Linked DNA regions of Homo sapiens: region 2 is linked to region 1. The links are contacts of gene promoters, found by promoter capture Hi-C in blood cells and fetal thymus (Javierre and others, 2016). All regions are on one chromosome and are shown on one strand. Each heading gives the region's core, a stretch centred on a gene start or on the middle of the fragment in contact. The rest is flanking DNA. Distances are from core to core; before and after follow the strand shown.

What was found. The method cuts DNA at HindIII sites, captures the fragments that hold promoters and counts their contacts. A CHiCAGO score of 5 or more calls a contact.
Region 2: a contact is called between a fragment that was not itself captured here and the fragment with the promoter of CLSPN-AS1 in region 1, in 7 of 17 cell types (M1 macrophages, endothelial precursors, naive CD4 T cells and 4 more). The highest score is 5.6, in M1 macrophages.

Annotation. Positions count from the first base shown.
Region 1 is chr1:35,737,484-35,743,173 of GRCh38, forward strand. CLSPN-AS1 (CLSPN antisense RNA 1) reads left to right here and starts at 1,962. Exons shown (of 2, transcript NR_199043.1): 1 at 1,962-2,030; 2 at 5,680-5,690. It overlaps CLSPN (claspin), which reads right to left. Exons shown (of 25, transcript NM_022111.4): 18 at 5,658-5,690; 19 at 1,882-2,046; 20 at 1,653-1,774; 21 at 972-1,099; 22 at 509-614. RefSeq lists enhancers at 811-1,312, 1,056-2,255. The HindIII fragment of the contact is 7,776 bases long and covers 405-5,690 here.
Region 2 is chr1:35,470,335-35,476,421 of GRCh38, forward strand. KIAA0319L (KIAA0319 like) reads right to left here. Exons shown (of 21, transcript NM_024874.5): 5 at 4,471-4,572; 6 at 529-626. Among named protein-coding and RNA genes, the nearest start is that of KIAA0319L, 84 kb to the right of the region's middle. The HindIII fragment of the contact is 2,916 bases long and covers 3,294-6,087 here.

The DNA.
Region 1 (5,690 bases), core at 712-3,211:
AAACAAGCTAAGAAATCTTGTAACTAAATCAATATGCTAAAGCCATGGGAACTCTGTTCTATATAATGGTGACTTTCAAACTATAATAATTGGCTCCAAGAAGAGACACAACTAAGTTGAACAGTAATCATTTAAGAAAAACAGAAGTGGTCAGTGTAGGGAATAGTGAAGAGCTTCATTTCTGGAGTTAAATATTCCTGGATTCAAATCCTACCTCTAACACTTAGGTATACAATCCTGGGCAACTAGAGAAAGCCAGAATTAACTACTCTGAGCCTTAGAACATAAAGTAAAACCAGCCACATATACTCATGAATACAGTCTCTACTGCCCAATAGTCTAAGATCTAAGTACACTGTCTCCCACCACCTCTGTGAAGCCTCTTTAAGACAGTATTAGACACAAGCTTATGATTAAGCTGCAACAGCTCCTGAAGGTTAGAGTCACCTCCAAAGCTCTACCACTAACAATCCAGGGGGCTAGACCCTAAGGAGAAACAAGAGCTCACCATTCTTCTGCAGTGCTTTGGCTGTAACTTTCTTGGCCAGTATCATAAACTGACTGTCCTCCCCAATTTCTTCTTCTTCTTCAGCTGTAATTTTCCCCTGCTGTGCCTGAAAAAAAAAAAAAATATATATATATATATATATATATATACAGCATTAAAAGTCTATAACCTTCCTAAATAGTTAGCATGGCCTGGATTGTGAAACTAGAGTTCCTGGGGTATTTGTTTTCCTTTTTGCAGCCTTTGCTGCTTTAGACAAAAAAAAATTAATCTTAGACAAACATGAAGAGAACTGTCTATGGTATAGCCTTCTCAAAACACAAAAGATAGCTCAAGGATTAAAAGAGATAGCAATATGTTGCCTAAGATTTTGAAACTATCATGACAAGCTAAGATTTTGAAACTATCATGACAAGCTAAGGGACAGTCTCATAAACTAGGGTCAGAGTAGGTGAACTCCTACCATGTCCCGAAGCCACTGCTCTCGTTCAATTCGCTCCTTCCTCCACCTGGCTTCTGACTCATCAAGCTGTTCTTCAGTCTGATCATCATCAGAGTCTCTGTGGAACAAGTCCATCTGGGAAGCATCATCTAAACAAAGAGTGAAGGTAATCAGCATTCGGCAGTCCTCACAGGAGAGGGTGCTTGGACAGACAAAAAATAAACCCTTATCATTTACTATATAATGATGTAAACTTTTCCCATCCATTAACAGAAAACAGTTACAACTAGGTCTTCACATAGCCTGTTATAGTTTTGCTTGCCATTTGCCATCTGAAACTCGACAAATATGCATTGTAACTGTTTGCTTTTTTTTTTTTTTTTTTGAGATGGAGTCTCGCTCTGTCGCCCAGGCTGGAGTGCAATGGCATGATCTCTGCTCACTGCAACCTCCGTCTCCCGGGTTCACGCAATTCTCCTGCCTCAGCCTCCTGAGTAGCTGGGATTACAGGCGCGTGCCATCACAGCCTGCTAATTTTTGAACTTTTAGTAGGGACGGGGTTTCACCATGTTGTTCAGGCTGGTCCTGAACTCCTGACCTTGTGATCCACCTGCCTCTGCCTCCCAAAGTGTTGGGATTACAGGCGTGAGCCACCATGCTCAGCCCGTAACTGATTGCTTTTAAAGACAACAACCAAGATACCTATGTTTTTCCATCGAAACTTCCTCATTCGCCCAGGACCATCGCTGTGCAGATCCCCATCAGCAAGGTACCTCTCTTGGTATAAACGTAGCTGTCGCTTATCATCATCCAACATAGTTTTCCTGCAACAGGAGAAATAAGGTGTTCAAAACAAGGACCATTCTGGCTGGTTACAGGGCTTGTCTTAAGATGTACCCTATTACTCAGAAGGGCTTATTGGGATACTGACATGTGTATTTTCTTGATTTGACTCTGCAGTTCCTCATCAGAAGGAAGTACTTCATCAATTACGTCCTCTTCATATTCATCAATTTCTTCCCCATCATACTCATCTTCGCTTCCCACATCACTTCCTGACACCTCTGCCTCATCCTCCAGGTATTTCCTCAACCTCCTAGAAAGCAATTTTGAGGATTAGAAAATGCAACAATGAATATACTCACAGAATATGGAAGCAAAGAAAAGCAGAACAGAGTCACTTCTAATAATAATAAACATAATACATTTGATAATATTTAAATTTTTTTGTAATAGTCTCCACTTATGATGGTTTGACTTAATGATTTTTCAACTTTACGATGACATGAATGTGATACGCACTTAGTATGCTTCTCGATTTACGATGGAGTTATATCTGGATAATATGAAAGTGCATTTTCAACTTATGATGGATTGATCAGGATATAGTCCCATTGTAAGATGTGGAGCATCTGTATTTAAAAGTTGATCACTTAATATGTCTTGTGTGCTAATAACTGTGCTTTACAGGCATTAACATATTATCATAGGAATGGGTACTATTATTCTCTTCATTTTACAGTTGAGGGAATTGAGCCTCAGAAAGATTACATTTACCCAAGGTCACATAGCTAGAAGGTAGCAGAGCCTGGATTCAACTTAGATTGGGTGATTTGAAAGCCAGAAAACTCTTAATCTCTTTTACATGTATTAGAATACCTGCTGGAAGGTTCAAACTATTTCATTTTGCATTTGAGCACACCAGCTTTAAGAGACAAACTAGAGATGGTGTGGTGTAGAAAGGTAATAAACTGGGATCTTCTTACAGCCTAACAAATCTTGACCCCCACATCAGAAGGAAGACTAAGGCTCAGAGCTCCTGGTAATCAAAACGACTAGTTACTTCTTATGACTTCAGCTCCCCCGGAGAATAAATCTGGTGTCACCCTGGATTCAAAGTCACCTTGGTCCCATGTGGTCCAAAATGGCAGAAGTTTGGTGGCTTTCTGAAAACTGATTTTTATCGAAGACCTATACTGTATTTTCTCTTTTTTTTTTTTTTTGAGATGAAGTGTCGCTCTGTCGCCTAGGCTGGAGTGCAGAGATGCCATCTCGGCTCACTGCAACCTCCACCTCCTGGGTTCAAGTGATTCTCATGCCTCAACCTCCCGAGTAGCTGGGATTACAGGTGCGTGCCACCATGCCTGGCTAATTTTTGTTTTTTTAGTAGAGATAGGGTTTCACCATGTTGGCCAGGGTGGTCTTGAACTCCTGACCTCAGGGGATCTGTCCATCTCAGCCTCCCAAAGTGCTGGGATTACAGGCATGAGCCACCACGCCCAGCCTATACTGTATTTTCTTAAAGCTAAGTTGTTCTAAATCCTAGAGTTCCTGGAAAATTCCTTCAGAGGCCACTAGTCACTAAGTTTCCCAAACTTCCCACTTACCATCTTTGAACAGTTCAACTTTTATCTGTCATTCTTTAAAAGATTTTATTTGAACAAAGAGCTCTGCAGAGAAGAACCACTACCTTAGAAAAATCTATGGATAACCTAAAGCTGTATGAGAGTTAATTTGATAGGTGATAAATTAGAACCCAAAGTGAATCTTAATAGAATGAAATGATGGGATAAAAGCAACCATATAAATCTAATAGGGATCAATATGATGTCCTATATGTGAATTCCAAATCATTCACATACAATATAATATTAAATACCTATTAGAATTATCTTTATAAAACTTTTTTTAACATCATAGGAAAATGTTTCTGGATATGCTAAGTAGAAAAAAAAAGATGCAAAATTATACATATAGAAAGATTGTACAAATCTCAACTATATAAAAATATATGCATAAAAAAGATTAAGGGGAACAAACTAACTTTCATTTATATCCTGGATGGTGGACATGGATAAGTTTTTATTTATATCTTTCTGTATTCTTTTTTTGCGGGGGTCGGGGAGAATGGAGTTTCTCTCGTCGCCCAGGCTGGAATGCAATGGCACAATCTCAGCTCACTGCACCCTCCACCTCCCGGTTCAAGCGATTCTCCAGCTTTGCCTCCTGAGTAGCTGGGATTACAGGCACTGGCCATCACGCTTGGCTAATTTTGTATTTTTAGTAGAGACGGGGTCTCGCCATGTTGGCCAGGCTGGTCTCGAACTCCTGACCTCAGGTGATCCACCCGCCTCAGCTTCCCAAAGTGCTGAGATTATAGGCGTGGGCCACTGCACCCAGTTTGTATTCTTTTAAATATCCTAAAATAAATATTTTACTTTCATGACCAGAACAGCATATCAAAAAAATGAGTTGGGCCGGCCAGGTGGGGTGGCTCACGCCTGTAATCCCAGCATGTTGGAAGGCCAAGGCGGGTGGATCGTGAGGTCAAGAGATCGAGACCATCCTGACCAACATGGTGAAACCCCGTCTCTACTAAATATACAAAAATTAGCTGGGTGTGGTGGCACGTGCCTATATTCCCAGCTACTCAGGAGGCTGAAGCAGGAGAATCGCTTTGAACCCGGGAGGCGGAGGTTGCAGTGAGCCGAGATCATGCCACTGCCCTCCAGCCTGGGCGACAGAGCGAGACTCCGTCTCAAAAAAAAAAAAAAAAAAAAAAAAAAAAGCTGGGCCTGGTGGCTCATGCCTGTAATCCCAGACTTTGGGAAGCAGAGGCAGGAGGATCACTTGAGGCCAACAGTTTAAGACCAGCCTGGGAACAAAGCAAGGCCCCATCTCTACAAAAAATAGAAAGAATTAGCCAGGTGTGGTGGCACATGCCTGTTGTCCCAGCTACTTGGGAAGCTGAGGCAGGAGGATTTAAGTTAAAAAGTGGCAAACTATTAACTGACTGTTAGGGGAGATTTCACCTAATCTAAGTTGAATCCAGCCTCTGCTGCCTTCTAGCTATGTGATCTTGGGTAAATTTAATCTTTCTGAGGCTCAGTTCCTTCAACTGTAAAATGAGGAGAATAATAGTACCCACTCATAAGATAATTTTTTTGAGATGGAGTCTTGCTCTATCACCCAGGCTGGAGTGCAGTGGGGCAATCTTGGCTCACTGCAACCTCCGCCTCCCATATTCAAGCAATTCTCCTGCCTCAGCCTCCCAAGTAGCTGGCACTACAGGCGCCCAGAACCATGCCTGGCTAATTTTTGTATTTTATTTTGTATTTTGTATTTTTAGTAGAGAGGGTTTCACCATGTTGGTCACGCTGGTCTCAAACTCCTGACCTCAAGTAATATGCCTGCCTTGGCCTCCCAAAGTGCTGGGATTACAGGCGTGAGCCACTGTGCCTGGCATAAGATAATATGTTAATGCCTGTAAAGCACAGTTATTAGCACACAGGACATATTAAGTGATCAACTTTTTTTTTTTTTTTTTTTTTGAGACAGAGTCTCGCTCTGTCACCCAGGCTGAAATGCAGTGGTGCGATCTCGGCTCACTGCAACCTCCACCTCCTGGGTGCAAGCGATTCTCCCTGCCTCAGCTTCCTGAGTAGCTGGGACTACAGGCACCTGTCATCACATCTGGCTAATTTTTATATTTTTTAGTAGAGACAGGGTTTCACCATGTTTGTCAGGATGGTCTCGATCTCTTGACCTGTGTCACCAAGACCAGGCTGGTCTTGAACTCCTGACCTCAGGTGATCCGCCTGCTTCAGCCTCCCAAAATGATGGGATTACAGGCGCAAGCCACCATGCCTGGCCTAGTGACCAAATTTTAAATACACCTGAAGGAATGGACATATTAATAACACGTACATTTGCCTTTTCAACTTCTCAGATCGCTTCAGG
Region 2 (6,087 bases), core at 3,502-6,001, 260 kb before region 1:
ATACAAAAATTAGCCAGGTATAATGGCATGACCCTGCAGTCTCAGCTACTCAGGAGGCTGAGGTAGGAGGATTGCTTGAGCCTGGGAAGTCAAGACTGCAGTGAGCCGTGATCACACCACTGCACTTCGGCCTAGGTGACAGAGCAAGACCCTGTCTCAAAAAAAAAAAAAAAAAAAAAAGAAAAAACCTATACTGAATCCCACAAAGGCTGAGTGAATGTATGCAGTCATGTGGCCACAAATAACCTAGCTTATCCCAAATTCTAAAATCCTTAAGTTAGCCTTAAAAGCCGTTTAGTGTATATTTTCAGCCACCACTACCATGCTGGTACAGTCTTCTTACCATAAATGAAATTTTGAGAATCATACACTAACAAATACTGGATGTCAGCCAGTCAGATTTTTGGAGGATTCATTTCTAAAAGACTGTTTACAACTTAAGTGTAGACAGAAAATTATATGATATTCATTTTAGAAAACAGTCAACTCCTCTACCTTTGCCCTGCAAGTGAAAGGAGGCAAATTCACCTTCGATAGTTTGAGGATCTGGGAATGTTTCCCTTCCATTTCTCCACTGTAGTCTCTAGGATGAGTAATCAGCTGCCAGTCGTAGGTGTAGGTTTCTCCTATAGAAGGGCAGTTACAAAAATCATGAAAACACACACCAACACACAAAGAGGACAGCCACATAGCCTGCCAATAACAAATCTCTTCTGATCTTGACAAGGCTTTAGTTTTTAAGATTTCACCCCAAAGCCTGTAGGGAAACCAAACCATCTGCTGAAAGAAAGAGCGAATGCTGCTGACTCAGCTACAGTTAGGGCTTCTTCCAACTCTCTCCCAACAATGCTTATTCCTGCCCTATACCGACCCTCTCAGGGCCAATCCTCCCTAAAAAATACCAGGTTGCTCATGGTGTGGCATACCACTGAAAATACATGTCCGACCAACCATTATAGATGAACTCATTGGGAACAAAGGCCATTTTCTTGCAAAACTTCTTTTGCAACAAAGAACAGCAATGACTTCTAAATAACATGGTTCAAAAATAGCTTTTTACAGAGTGCTAACAATGCTCGTCTCACTGAGGTCATCACACCCTGGTGAGTTAAAAGAGCTACTTCATTCCTGCTGAGCTAAATAACACACTGCAGAAGATGGTAGGAGATGGCCCATTTAAAACAGGCCCAGTGAAATTAATTAAAATCAAATGAAGCATTAAATGGTACCCACTTGCAGGTCAGACTATATCACTAGGTAAGGCAATGGTAGGATCCTATCTAAATGGCATCCCTCCCCAGAAAAAGTAGTCTTAAATTTTTTTGGATCAAAATGCATTTCTGATTAGGGAAGGGAGGACTTTGGTAGGAAGGTTTAGTTTAAGTTACTAACCAAAAGTAAAAAAGAAAAAGGGGGAAAAAAAAACCTGAAACACTTAGCAGAGAGTGGTCATCTTTTTCTTATTTCATGAGTTCAAATGTTAAAATCAGTACACAGAACCTAATTCCAAGATATCCTTCATCTGAAGACCAATTTTATTTTATAATCCTGGGAGACAAGGTCTTCTTCCTTCCTTCCTTCCTCCTCCAAAACAAGAATTTTTTTGGCCAGTTGTCAGCGCCAACAGCTCTCACAAACGTATATAGTATGTAGTAGTTATGTTACGAGAGGAGACGGAAAGAAGCAGCACAAGCAGGACTTGTACTCAGAGACATTTCTTCCAACTGTAGCTGGAAATTCTTTTCCATGTAGAAAACAGTTTGGGAACAGATAATTTTATAATAGCTAAGGCTAGCAACATAAATTTCAAAACAGGACAATATTCCTAGGACAGAAAAGCTCAGGGGATGAATTATGCCTCGCAGGCAGAAATATGTTCAAAGGTAGGAACAACTGAGTGTAACTCTGTTAGAAAGAGTGCTGGTTGCAGTGACTGAGGACAGTCGTTCGTTTGTTCTATTGACTGACTGACTGATTGAGATGAAGTCTTGCTGTTGCCCAGGCTGGAGTGCAGTGGTGCAATCTCAGCTCACTGCAACCTCTGCCTCCCAGGTTCAAGTGATCCTCCTGCCTCAGCCTCCCAAGTGGCTAGGATTACAGGCACGTACCACCACGTCTGGCTAATTTTTGTATTTTTAGTATAAACAGAGTTTCACCATGTTGGCCAAGCTGGTCTCAAACTTCTGACCTCAAGTCAGGATCTGCCTGCCTCAGCCTCCCAAAGTGCTAGGATTACAGGCATGAGCCACCACGCCCAGCCGGACAGTGGTTTTGAAAATGGACCTGGAGGGATCCTAATGGGCTGCCATAGGGCAGGAGAAGGATAAAGAGCATGCAGAATTGGTCCTGCCTCATCACCCCCAACCTTTGGAAGTTTGAAACCATCCATCTCACATATCTAATAAAGGTGGAAGAACCTGGAGAGAGGACAGGAGAAAATAATCTATTTCCCTTTTTTTTTTTTTTTTTAATGAGATGGAGTCTCTCTCTGCCACCCAGGCTGGAGTGCAGTGGCATAATCTTGGCTCACTGCAACCTCCGCCTCCTGGGTTCAAGCAATTCTCAAGCCTCAACCTCCCCAGTGGCTGGGATTACAGGCGCCCACCATCACGCCTGGCTTACTTTTAGTAGAGATGGGGTTTCACCATGCTGGCCAGGCTGGTCTTGAACTCCTGACCTCAGGTGATCTGCCCGCCTCAGCCTCCCAAAGTGCTGGGATTACAGGCATGAGCCACTGCGCCCAGCCTTTTTTTTTTTTTTTTTTTTTTTCTTTTTTTTTGAGACAGAGTCTTGCTCTGTCACCCAGGCTGGAGTGCAATGGCACAATCTTGGCTGACTGCAACATCCGCCTCCTGGGTTCAAGCGATTCTCCTGTCTCAGCCTCTCAAGTAGCTGGGATTACAGGTGCCCACCACCACACCCAGCTAATTTTTTTGTATTTTTGGTAGAGATGGGGTTTCGCCACGTTGGCCAGGCTGGTCTTGAACTCCTGACCTAAGGTGATTCACCCACCTCAGCCTCCCAAAGTACCAGGATTACAAGTGTGAGCCACCGTGCCTGGCCAAAGAATCTATTTCTAAACTAACATGTTTTGAAACACTGATCTACAAAATGATAGTAACCCACAGAAAGGTACATGCAAATATGGGTTAGGAAAGAAAATACAGTAGAGCCAAACATGTCTTTCACAAAAGAATGGTAGTAATCAACAGCTCAAGGCAGTCCCTCACCTCCAACTTCAAAAGCCACTAAACCCAATCACCTTAACTTGTCACCAGAGGAAGAAAGGAAAAAGCTTCTCTAGAGGAATGTGAAATGAATTGATAAGGAAACCTCGATTTGAGAGCAGAAATATAGAACAGACAGGGCATTTTGCTTCTGGAAAAGTACTTTTTGCATTAATATGCTATTTGGTATTAGGCCTAGAAATTAAGAATACTGTATTGGAGATGTGTGTACCTAAAATGGAAGGACCCCATCCTAAATAGGGAAGGACATTCTACTTGACTAACCTTTTAATGATAACATAAACCCAACTGGCTCAATTTCCATCAAAGTATGTACCACTCAAGTCCTAAATAGTGTTAAGAGAACCCATATGTGTTTGTAAGTCAAACTTTGGTATATTAACACATACTTCAAAGGTGAAAGTAATGTTCATATTACAAAAGTTTTCTTAAATAATGAATTAATCATCCATACTTTATATATTTTATAAACTTGAATTTTGTATATCACATTAGGCTTAGCTTTTTTTTCCCCCAGGGACAGGGTTCTCACTATGGGAAACGATGGTCCTTACAACGGTCCTGTGAGGATAGGATATAACCCGGGTATGCACAAATATTTATGGAATATGAGAGGTACTATATAATGTAGGGTTTGAGATCACAGGCTTTGATGTCACGCTTGGGTTCAAATCTCAGCTGAGCCACTCATTATCTGTGTGAATCTAAGTAAATGACTTCTCTTAATTTCCATTTCTTTCTCAATAAAATGGGGATAATAATTCCTACCTCATAAGATTACTTTAAGGGCAAAATGAGATAGTAGATAAGTTACCAGTTTAGTGCCTAGCATATAGCTGATGCTTATTAATATAGAACATATTTATTAGGTTGTATTTAAATCCATTTTAAGAGAAAGAAACTGAGACTCAGATTAATCTGTTTATTTTGGTCAAACAACCAGTAAATAGCAGATGTAGAACTTAGAAAGAAGTTATTCAAGATGACTGCTAATATAAATTTGTAACTTAAAAAAAATACATTTTTTCCTGACAGGAAGTCAGAGGAGGGAAAAAGATAAGGGCCAGGAGTGGTAGTGTATGCCAGTAGTTCCAGCTACTAGGAAGACTAAGGTGGGAGGATCTCCTGAGCCCAGGAGTTTGAGACCAGCCTGGACAACACAGCAAGACTCCATCTCTTTCAAAAACAAAAAACGGTTATCCAAATGTAAGGGGATGTTTACCTTTAGGTGGTTCTTGGAGAACATATGCATTTAATTGAACTTCATTCTTAGGCAGGGTTATCTGGACACTCTCTCCAGCAGATACCACCAGTTCCTTTATAACTGGAAACAAAGTAAATATACCAGAGATAAGAAATAGATCCAGACTGTCTTATTTCTCTCTTTCTTTTGTGATCAAACTCCTTTCATGATCAATATTCAGCTACTGCCATCAATTACTAACTTTTTTCTACTCTCTAATTGCTTGAAATTTGATTCTGTCCCCACTTTTCCATTGAAAAGGATCTTTCAAAACTACTTCTTAGTAAATCTAACAGCTGTACCCTAATACCCTCATTCTTCATCTCACATCTCAGTGGCTTCTACTATTGCTAACTGCCTCCATCTTAAAACTCTTGGATATCATGACACCATATTATTCTATTTTTCCTCCTTTCTCTCTTTTCCTCCACTGTATTTTTACTACAGTCTGTCCCTAAGCCCTCCCTATATACTACATTCCACAGAGTTCAAATCCTGTTTCAAGTATCACCTTTATGCTAACAAATAACTTTCTAATAAGATACATATATAAAGTTTCTAGAAGGGAAGGCAAATGGTTACAAATCTGCCTTACTTTCTTTCCATTCCAATTGCTACAAGATTCATTGTTCACACTAGATTATTCCAAGAATTTTTTTTTTCTTTTTGAGTCAGGGCCTCACTCTGTTGCTCAGGATAGAGTGCAGTTGTGTAATCATAGCTCACTGCAGCCTCAAATTCCTGGGCTCAAGCGATCTTCCCACCTCAACCTCCCAAGTAGCTGGGACTACAGGCATGCACCACCACGCCCAGCTTGCTTATCCCAAGAATCTTATTTTATCTTCCCTCTGCTAGCTCTCTCTACTCCAATCTATTCTGTCTTCCTAAAACAACCAACACCATTAGTCTTTCCAAAATACTCACCCACTATGTTACTCTTCTATTTAAGACTCCTGCTCCCATATCATATTTAAGGACAAACTTCCAACCTGCCATTAGAGAACCATCATCTGATCTCACTGTCTTATCCTTCCTATCTAATTTTGCCTCTAGTTACATTGATTTTCCCTCTTGTGTTCCACAAAGCCACGGTCTACTCTCAGGGACTTTGCTAAAGTTATTTCTTTCAACTGCGGTGTTTGCCTTGCTTTATTCTAAATACAGCATTTTGTTTCTAGCTTAAAGTCTGTCTCCTCTCCAAGAAATCTTCCCAGACCATTTCAGTTCAAACTGATCTAATCTTGAAGTATGCTAGCATTTTTGGAACACTCAAGTCAGCAAAGAGCTATATACTGTCTTTATACTATTCACCAGCTATTTCACATATGTCAGAGTTTCTCAAGCTCAGCACTCCTGATATTTTGGACCAGGTAATTCTTTGTCATGGAGGGAAATGTCCTGAGCACTGTAAGGTGTTTAACAGTATCACTGACCCATACTCACCAGACGTCAGTAGCATCACTCCCCTCCCCCAACTAAAAATGTTTGCAGACCACTGAAAGCCACCGATTATATAAATCTTATTTCTCTGACAATAAATGTTCATTTGCTATGAGACTTCAAAACTAGGAGAGCTTAAAGCAAACAATAGGCTAG